Regions from separate parts of the Homo sapiens genome. Here region 1 is linked to region 2. The links are contacts of gene promoters, found by promoter capture Hi-C in blood cells and fetal thymus (Javierre and others, 2016). All regions are on one chromosome and are shown on one strand. Each heading gives the region's core, a stretch centred on a gene start or on the middle of the fragment in contact. The rest is flanking DNA. Distances are from core to core; before and after follow the strand shown. Region 1 holds the start of ZNF233 (zinc finger protein 233). Region 2 holds the start of ZNF155 (zinc finger protein 155).

The links. The method cuts DNA at HindIII sites, captures the fragments that hold promoters and counts their contacts. A CHiCAGO score of 5 or more calls a contact.
Region 1: a fragment that was not itself captured here is called in contact with the fragment with the promoter of ZNF155 in region 2 in 1 of 17 cell types (naive CD8 T cells); the score reaches 5.2 in naive CD8 T cells.

Annotation. Positions count from the first base shown.
Region 1 is chr19:44,255,818-44,260,502 of GRCh38, forward strand. It overlaps ZNF233 (zinc finger protein 233), which reads left to right and starts at 4,069. Exons shown (of 5, transcript NM_001207005.2): 1 at 4,069-4,121. The HindIII fragment of the contact is 5,812 bases long and covers 1-4,590 here.
Region 2 is chr19:43,981,891-43,986,532 of GRCh38, forward strand. It overlaps ZNF155 (zinc finger protein 155), which reads left to right and starts at 2,298. Exons shown (of 5, transcript NM_198089.3): 1 at 2,298-2,355. RefSeq lists a silencer at 1,995-2,194. The HindIII fragment of the contact is 8,717 bases long and covers 1-4,642 here.

The sequences.
Region 1 (4,685 bases), core at 435-2,934, 270 kb after region 2:
GCACAATGGGAGTCACAATAAGAGGAGAGAGAAAGGAGTATAAGGAATATTTGAAGAAATAATGTTCAAAAACTTCTCAAACTTATAAGACATGAATCTACACATAGAAGAAGCTCAAGGAACTAACTCCAAGAAGAATAAATGCATAGAGATCCACACCAAGACACATTATAATCAAACCATAAAAAGACAGAGACTCAAAATCAACAAGAGAAAGTGACACCTCATGTTCAAAGCCTCTATAATAAGATTAATAACCCATTTCTCATCAGAAACCATGATCTCCAGAAGCCAGTATGATGACATATTTAAAGTAATGAAATAAAAAAAACCTGTTAGCCAAGAATCCTATATCTGGCAAAACCATCCTTCAAAAATGAAGGAGAAATTAAGACATTCCTAGATAAACAAACACTGAGGGAGTTCATTGCTAGTTGGCCTGCCCTACAAGAAATACAAAATACTTCAGGCAGAAGTGAAAAAACACTAAATCTTGAAGCCATATAAATTAATAAAGAACACTGGTAAAGTAATTACATAGGTAAACACAAAAGCCAATATTATTGTATTATTGGCTCATAACTCCTATATGATTTAAAGAAAAATGAGTAAAATAGTTACAAATCTATGTTAATGGGGCACACAATGTATAAAGATGTAATTTTTCAAATCCTAAAGGGAGGAGGACAGAGATACGGGAGCAGGATTTTTTATATTTTGGAAGCTAGGTTAGTATTAATTCAAGCTATATTAACTTCTTTAATGTATTACAATATAGTTTGAATTAATACTATTCAACACTTTTGCATCTTTAAATTTTTTCATAATAAAATTTGGAAAAATAGGCCAGCTGTGGTAGCTCACATCTGTTATCCCAGCACTTTGGGAGGGTGAGGCAGGAGGATTGCTTGAGGCCAGGAGTTTGAGAACAGCCTGGGCAACATAGTGAGACCCTGTCTCTACAATTTTTTTTTTAATTAGCTGGGTGTGATGGCACATTTTTGTAGTCCTAACTATGCAGGAGTCTGAGGCTGGAGGACCACTTGAGCCCAGGAATTTGAGGCTGCAGTGAGCCAAGATCACACCCATTGCACTCCAGCCGGGGTGACAGAGTAAGACCTTGTTTCAAAAAAGAAAAAAAGACGTTAACTGTATACCACAGGGTAATCACTAAGAAAATATACAGAAAAGGGAATAAGAAGAAAAATTAAATGGTACACTACAGGTCGGGCATGGTGACTCACGCTTGTAATCCCAGCATTTTGGGAGGCCAAGGTGGGTGGATCACTTTAGGTCAGGAGTTCAAGACCAGGCTGCCCAACATGGTGAAACTCTGTCTTTACTAAAAATACAAAAATTCGCTGGGCATTGTGGTGCATGCCTGTAGTCCCAGCTACTTGGGAGGCTGAGGCATGAGAATCACTTGAACCCAGGAGGCAGAGGTTGCAGTGAGCTGAGATCACACCACTGCACTCCAGCCTGGGTGACAGAGTGAGACCCTGTCTCAAAATGGAAAAAAAAAGAAAAAGGTACGCTGCAAAAACATCAAACAGAAAAGAAGGCATTAATCAAGAGACCTAGGAAAGAAGGCATTAATCAAGAGACCTAGGAACAAAAAAGATAAGCCATGTAGAAAACAGATCACAAAGTGAAAGAAGCAAGGCCGTTTTAAAATCAGGAATTAATTTAAATGCAAATAGATTAAGCTCTCCAGTTAAAAGGCAAAAATGGACAGAATGGATAAAACAGCATGATCCAACTATATGCTGTCTATAAGAGACTTATTTGCAATCCAAAGACAAAAAATGTTGAGTGAAAAAATGGAAGAAAATTATTCCATGCAGGATGTAAAAAAAGAGAACTGAAGTAATTGTATTAATATTAGACAAAATCGACTTAGGTAAAAAACTTGACAAGAGACAAACAATGACATTATATATTGACAAAAGAGTCAATCCATCAAGAAGATATAACAATACAGACATTACACAGCTAGTCCCCAAATATATGGTGTGAAAATTGATGGAACTGAAGGGAGACATAAATATTTCTACAATGTTTTCAGACTTCAGTATCTCACTTTCAATAATGGATACAACAACCAGACAAAAGATCAATAAAGAATTAGAGGATTTGGAAACATAAACCAAACTCCTAGCAGATATATACAAAGCACCCCACCTAAAACCAGCAGAATACATATTTTTCTTAAGTGGTCATGAAACATTTTCTGGGATAGATCATACATTAGGCCACAAAACAGGTCTCAATAAAAATAAAAAATCTCACGTATCAACAGAAAGATAAAGTCACATGAAATGTATTCTCAGGCCACAAAAAAATGAAACTCAAATCAGTAATGAGGAAAACTGGAAAATTCACAAATGTGTGGAAATTAAACAGCACACTCATAAAAACCGATGGGGATAGAAGTTACAGGGAAATTAGAAAATACTTTGAGATGAAAACAAAACATGATTCAGGATTCCTTTGGTGCTAAAATAATAAAATTCTGCTGACTGAGCTAAAAAAATTTGTGATAGAAAATATCAAAGGCAGTTCCCCACTCTATACACAATACCCACCCCCATAACTTAAATAAAACAACTTTCTCCTTTCTAGAGAAAATCACATTGGAAACAAAGCCTCTGCAAGAAGTCCTGATATATGTGCTTTTACAAGGCTGCTAAATATTACTTCATTTTTGATACCACATTGACTTGATCTATTGATGATCATTCTATTGCATTTATCATCTCAAGAGCAAGCTGAGTGGATACAAAAAAAAATTTAAATTGAAATAAGGGAAGAAGCATTTTCAAGATATAATTTAGATGTTGTTTTTTTCCAAATTACAATACAGTTGGCTCTTGAACAACACAGGTTTAAACTGCATGGGTCCACTTATATGTGAATTTTTTTTCAACAAATATATTGCAATTTTTTTTGGAAATTTGCAACAATTTGAAAAAGCTCACAGATAAGCCGTGTAGTCTAGAAATATCAAACAATTAAGAAAAATTTAGGTATATCATGAATGCATAAAATATATGTAGATATTAGTCTATTTTATCATTTACTACCATAAAATATACATGAATCTATTAAAAAAAGGTAAAACTTATAAAAACTTACACACACAAACACAGACTGTACGTTCACAGTCAAGAGAAATGTAAAACAAAGATGCAATATTAAATCAAGCCTGCATAAAGTTAACTGTAGTACATGCTGTGCTACTGTAATAATTTAATAGCTATCTCCTGTCACTGTTGTGGTGAGCTCATGTGTGTAAATATCTGCTTAAAATTCCAAGTAATGCTAATCATCTCAAAGTGAGCAGTTCATCTCTCTAGTAAATTGCGTATTACAGTAAAAAGTGATCTAAAGGTTTCTTATTTTTTATTGTGTTTAGTGCAATACTATAAAACTTGAATACTACCATGGGACCTATGTGAACTGCCACTAGTGATGTTGCAAGTGCTCCCAAGATGCATAGAAAAGTCATGACATTATAAGAAAAAGTTGAATTGCTTGATATGTACTGTAGAATGAGGTCTGAAGCTGCAGCTGCCTGCCATTTCAGAAAGATGGTTTATTTTGTAAACAGATGGTGTAAACTTACAGTATCAATACCGTACAGAACTGTAAATATTTCTCTTCTTCTTGATTTTCTTTTTTTCTTTTTTCTTTTTTTTTTGGAGCTGGAGTCTCACTGTCGCCTAGGCTGGAGTGCAGTGGCACGATATTGGCTCACTGCAACCTCTGCCTCCTGGGTTCAAGCAATTCTCCTGCCTCAGCCTCTGGAGTAGCTGGGATTACAGGCATGTGCCACCACGCCCAGCTAATTTTTGTATTTTTAGTAGAGACGGGGTTTCACCATGTTGGCCAGGCTGGTCTCAAACTGCTGACCTAGTGATCCACCCCCCCTTGGCCTCCCAAAGTGCTGGGATTACAGGCGTGAGCCACTGCACCTGGCCCCTCTTGGTCCCTCTTGGCTGGGCAGGGCGGTAGCCTGTTTCCGCTCGGGCATTCTGGGAAGTGTAGTGCAGAAGCCGTTGCAACCTTGTGTACTTCCGCTGCAGGAGGGCGAAGCAGCCGTCATCTATCCCCTCTGGGAGGTGAGTCAGCGCGGAACCTCTGCATCTACGGCGAGCTTTCCTGGCCTGGGCGTTGGACTCGCAGGTGCCTGCCCTCGCTCTCAGTGAAGGGAAGTCGCAGAGGGCGGGGACGACGGTTTGCTTGCCCTTTGTTTTTAGGGCGGTGCATGGGTCTCCAAGTTGGGAATGGCTCCTGGTCGCACGTTTGGTTTGAAGGTCTCCCGGGCGCTCAAGTTCCCTCGCCTTCCCCACCTTCCACACGCTCTGCTGTCTTCTGGCAATATAATCTTGGTAGTTTCTTAATTTCTCCGTTTCTCCTCTGTAAAGTGAGTTTCATAGTAGTACCTAACTGGTAGGGGTTTCGTGAGATTTACTTAAGATAAATAGATGTAAAAATGCGTAGGACCGATCCTGACACACACTGAAAAGGTGGCTGGTTGTTGCCAATCTGTTATTTCTTCCTGGAGAGGAGAGGCATTCAGTCTCTGAAAGCTTCTGTGAGCCCGCAGTGGGTTCTGAGCTCCAGGTGCAGCGCTACTCGCCCTTCTCTGATCTCTGCACCTCGCGAGGCTGTTCCTGGATTCC
Region 2 (4,642 bases), core at 1,048-3,547:
AATGAGATTTCTTTGTAGATAAACTAGGAAAGTGAAAATCATAGAATAACAAATTAACCTAAATGTATTTCAAATCAATAACATAAACAGTCTAAAGGTGACAGCAAGAAGTAATTTAAGCAACTTATTAAACAGTACAGTGTTTGACTATATATCCTCAGTCTAAAGACAAAAAGAACTATAAAAAATGTTGAACTCTACTTTTGCATTGTTTTTTACAATGATATGAATTAGTAACTCTGACACTGCATGATGCGTATGCAATGGTCTTAATGTTTGTGGCCCACCAAAATCCATATATTGTAATTTTTACCCTCAATGTGATGGTAATAGGAGGTGGGGCCTTTGGAGGGTGATTAGGTCACGGGATGAATACCCTTATAAAAAATGCCAGAAGGAGCTTGTTTGTCACTTCAACCAAATGAAGACACAGCAATATGGTGCTAACTATGAACAAGAAAGTGGCCAACTACCTGACACAAAATCTGCCAGTGCTTTGATCTTGGATCCCAGTTTCCAGATCTGTGAAGAATAGATTTCTGTTGCTTAAAAGCCGGCCGGGCGTGGTCGCTCACGCCTGTAATCCCAGCACTTTGGGAGGCCGAGGTGGGCGGATCACAAGGTCAGATCGAGACCATCCTGGCTAACACGGTGAAACCTCTTCTCTACCAAAAATACAAAAAAATTAGCCGGGCATGGTGGCGAGCACCTGTAGTCCCAGCTACTCGGGAGGCTGAGACAGAAGAATGGCATGAACCTGGGAGGCAGAGCTTGCAGTGAGCCGAGATCGCGCCACTGCACTCTAGCCTGGGCGACAGAGCAAGACTCCGTCTCAAAAATAAAATAAAATAAAATAAAATAAAATAAAATAAAATAAAATAAAATAAAATAAAAGCCAGGCAGGCTATGATATTTTGTGACTAAAAAATATTGGTACTGAGAGGTGGGCTTGCTGCTGCAACAAATACCTAAAAATGTAGCAGTCTTTGGAACTATGTAATGGATAGAGTCTAGAAGAGTTTTTACATGTATGCTAGGAAAAGCCTACATTGCCATGAATGGACTGATAAGGACAATTCTGGTTAGCGCTCAGAAATAGAGAATAAGAACTGTAGAGAAAACATCAATCTTGTTAGAGCATACCTAGGTAGTCATGATCAGAATGTTGGTAGAAATATGGACAGTAAAGGCCATTCTGAAGACCTCAGTCAGAAATGTTGAACATGTTATTGGAAGAGAAGAGAGCTTCTTGTTATAAAGGGACAAAGAATTTGGCTGAATTATATTCAGGTGCTAGTGTTTTATGGAAGGTAGAATTTGTGAATGATATAATTGTTTATCTGAATTAATTTCTAATCAAAGTGTTGAAGTTGCTTGAATCATCTTGACTACCCGTAGTGAAAGGCACGAAGTGAGGAATGACTGAAATAATTATTAATTAAAAGGGAAACAGAACTAAAATTTTTAAAAGTTTACAGCCTATCTACTTTGGAAAAAAAAAAAAACAGGAAACCTGAAGAATACAAGGGTATGGTTAAGCAACTAACTAATTCATGAATTTAGTATGGATTGGCCATGTCAACTGAAGCCAGGACCTATTGTCCAAGACAATGGAAGAATGACCCCAAAGGCATTTCACAGATTATGGCAGCTTCTCCTCCCATCACAGGCCCAGAGTGCAAGGACCTGGGGGACAGAAAGGGCCTTTGATGCCAGATATACCCTAATATATTAGGCACAGTTTCCTGCCTACTACGATTGAGCGTGTCAATAAATTTTTATCTCTTGGGAGGGCAGAACAGAGCAAGGATACAGCTGTAACTGGTTTAGAAATAGCAGTCACTCAATTTTCAGAGAAGTGTTCCTCATACTGTGGTTGGCACAGTCACTTTATCTAAAGAAAACCATGAAAAGTATTCTTTTTTAGTTTAGAAAAATTGATATAGAACATGAGACTCCATTTTTTTAAAATAAAAATATAGGTTGATAGGCCAGAATTCACAGGTCCACCTGCCTGAGCCAAAATTCTCACGCCTCCACAGAGCAAATGGACTCCATTTCCCAAGATACCAGCGAAACGCCTGCGGGAGTCTAATTGCCCGGTCGATGCGCAGGAAATTTGGCTCCCGCAGGCGTTTCGCGAGTAGCTTGGGAGGCGTGGGAATTTTGGCCCAGGCAGGAGGACCTGTGAATTCTGGGAAGTGGAGTCCATTTGCTCTGTGGAGTCGTGGGAACTTTGGCTCAGGCAGGCGGATTCGGGGGATTCTGGGAAGTGTAGTCCAGACGCCTGTGGCATCATCGACACTTCCGGTCTCCGAGCAGGACACTGCTACTTAACAAGGTGGTTTGAGCCAAGTATGTGTCTTGCGGGTCTTTGCGAAAGTGAACCAGTTATTAGGGGCGCCTAACGACCTGGGGGGTCAACTAAGGGGGTAAGAAGCCCTGGAGAAGACCTGAGGTTTGGAGATGCGAGGGGTGGGAGGGAAGTTTCGTTGCCGTCGATGGAGCCTTCTGGCGTTGGGGGCTGTACTCAGGTCCACCGGAGGAGTCGTCGGGGGTTCGGGGGGGGCGGGGAAGAACTCTGTCTAGTCTTGTGTGCCTGTTTAGAGGGTTTTCCAGGTGTTTGACCTCGTTCAGTCCGCCTCCCTCCACTCTTAAGTGTGCGACCTCTTTCTCGCGATATAACGTGGGGTGTTACTTAATCTCCCTGTACCTCCCATTGCCGTTTTTTAAATGAGGATTTCAGGACCATCCTGATAGAATTGTTTTAGGAGTTGAAAGTTGTGGTATAAAACAAAGACTTAACAGCTCCTGTCACTTGGTGTCCTGTTAATTTCCCGCGAAGTGGTCAGGTGCCCGGGTGGGGTCAGAGCTCCAGCTGCTCCGGCCCTTCTCTTGGAGCCCGGCAGGGCTCTGGATGATCCCGGACGCCTCTGACCTCTTTTTAGGAAGGCGTGGGTTGCATCCACGTTTCACGAAGGGAGAGGAGCATTTAACTTGTATCCGGGACGGCGACGCAGAGTGTTTGACAGCTTTCTCCTTCCCCAGCCTGACTTTTCTAAAAGAGCTGCAGGGAGGGACTTGGCTACTGAGGACAAAGCTGTCTACACGAGTGGTCTTTGGCTTTTCTCTTTTTAAAAAAAAGTTATTTATTTTGTTAGTCTGTTTTTATTATTGTTATTATTTGAGAATGAGGTTTGCTCTGTCTCCCAGGCTGGAGTGCAGCAGTGGCGCGATCTTGGCTCACTGCAACCTCCGCCTCCTGGGTTCAAGCGATTCTCTGTCCTCAGCTCCGGAGTAGCTGGGATTACAGGCATGCGTCACCATGCCCGGCTAATTTTTGTATTTTTAGTAGAGACGGGGTTTCACCATGTTGGCCAGGCTGGTCTCGAACCTGTGGTCCTAAGTGATCCGCCTGCCTCGGCCTCCCAAAGTGCTGGAATTACAGGTGTGAGCCACCGCGCCGGGCCGGTTTTTTCTTTTACAGAGATGTTCACCTCAACCAAGAGTGTATAGGATGTGTCCTTGGGCATGGGTGTTGATAATAATTAAACCTTAATTGGTAACTTAATTCTAAGGGCTTTATGGAAATAAATACATTTACGCCACACCATGGCTCTGTGGAAAGGTATTGCTCTTTTTCTTTTTTTTTTTTTTTTTTTTTTCCTGAGACGGAGTCTCGCTCTGTCGCCCAGGCTAGAGTGCAGTGGCGCGATCTGGGCTCAGTGCAATAGGCCGCCTCCCAGGTTCAGGCGATTCTCCTGCTTCAGCCTCCTAAGTAGCTGGGATTACAGGTGCGCACCACCACGCCCAGCTAATTTTTGTATTTTTAGTAAAGATGGGGTTTCACCGTTTTGGTCAGGCTGGTCTGAAACTCCTGACCTCGTGATCCGACCGCCTTGGCCTCCGAAAATGCTGGGATTACAGGCGTGAGCCACCGCGCCCGGTCGCTCTTTTCCATTTTAAATATGGGAGTGAGACACCTGGTGCTTAGTTCCCAGTAGAATGAGGTACAGCTGGAGCTGGAACCTAGGCAGTTTGGGTCAGAGCCTGAGTTGATCATCCCTTGGATACATTTTCATTGAGGTAGAGGAACTAGCTGGAATCAGGTGGGGAAAGAGAGTTAGGACTTGATTGAAGGGACCTTGAGAGCAAGGCTCATAGACTTGGACTTCTGTAGGAGTCTTTTAAAAATTTGTCAACATCCTGTTTCACTTTTTATAAGGATTTTGTATTGTGGAACCATATCATTGTGGAGCATTTTAAAATTAGATTAATAGGAGGAGAAAACATGTTTTAAATTACCCATGAATCCAAGATGTGAAGGTGCTAACTGTCTGATACAAGAGATGGAACTTCCAGTTCTCCTCCGTTTCTTTTTAGTCTTTCTCTGTGTCTATTGTATATTTATTTATAAGCATTTAAAAAAATTGTTATAATATCTTAATGTGTTTTCCCATATTTCTTTAACTATGGAAATTTTTAAATACTGCTAATAGAGAATAAACTAGTAAACTGCCATATTATGTCATGCTCATCCAATATTATTCCCATTTGTGTTTTTTTTTTTTTTTTTTTAGACGGAGTCTCGCTCTGTCACCTAGGCTGGAGTGCAGTGGTGCGATCTCGGCTCACTGTGAGC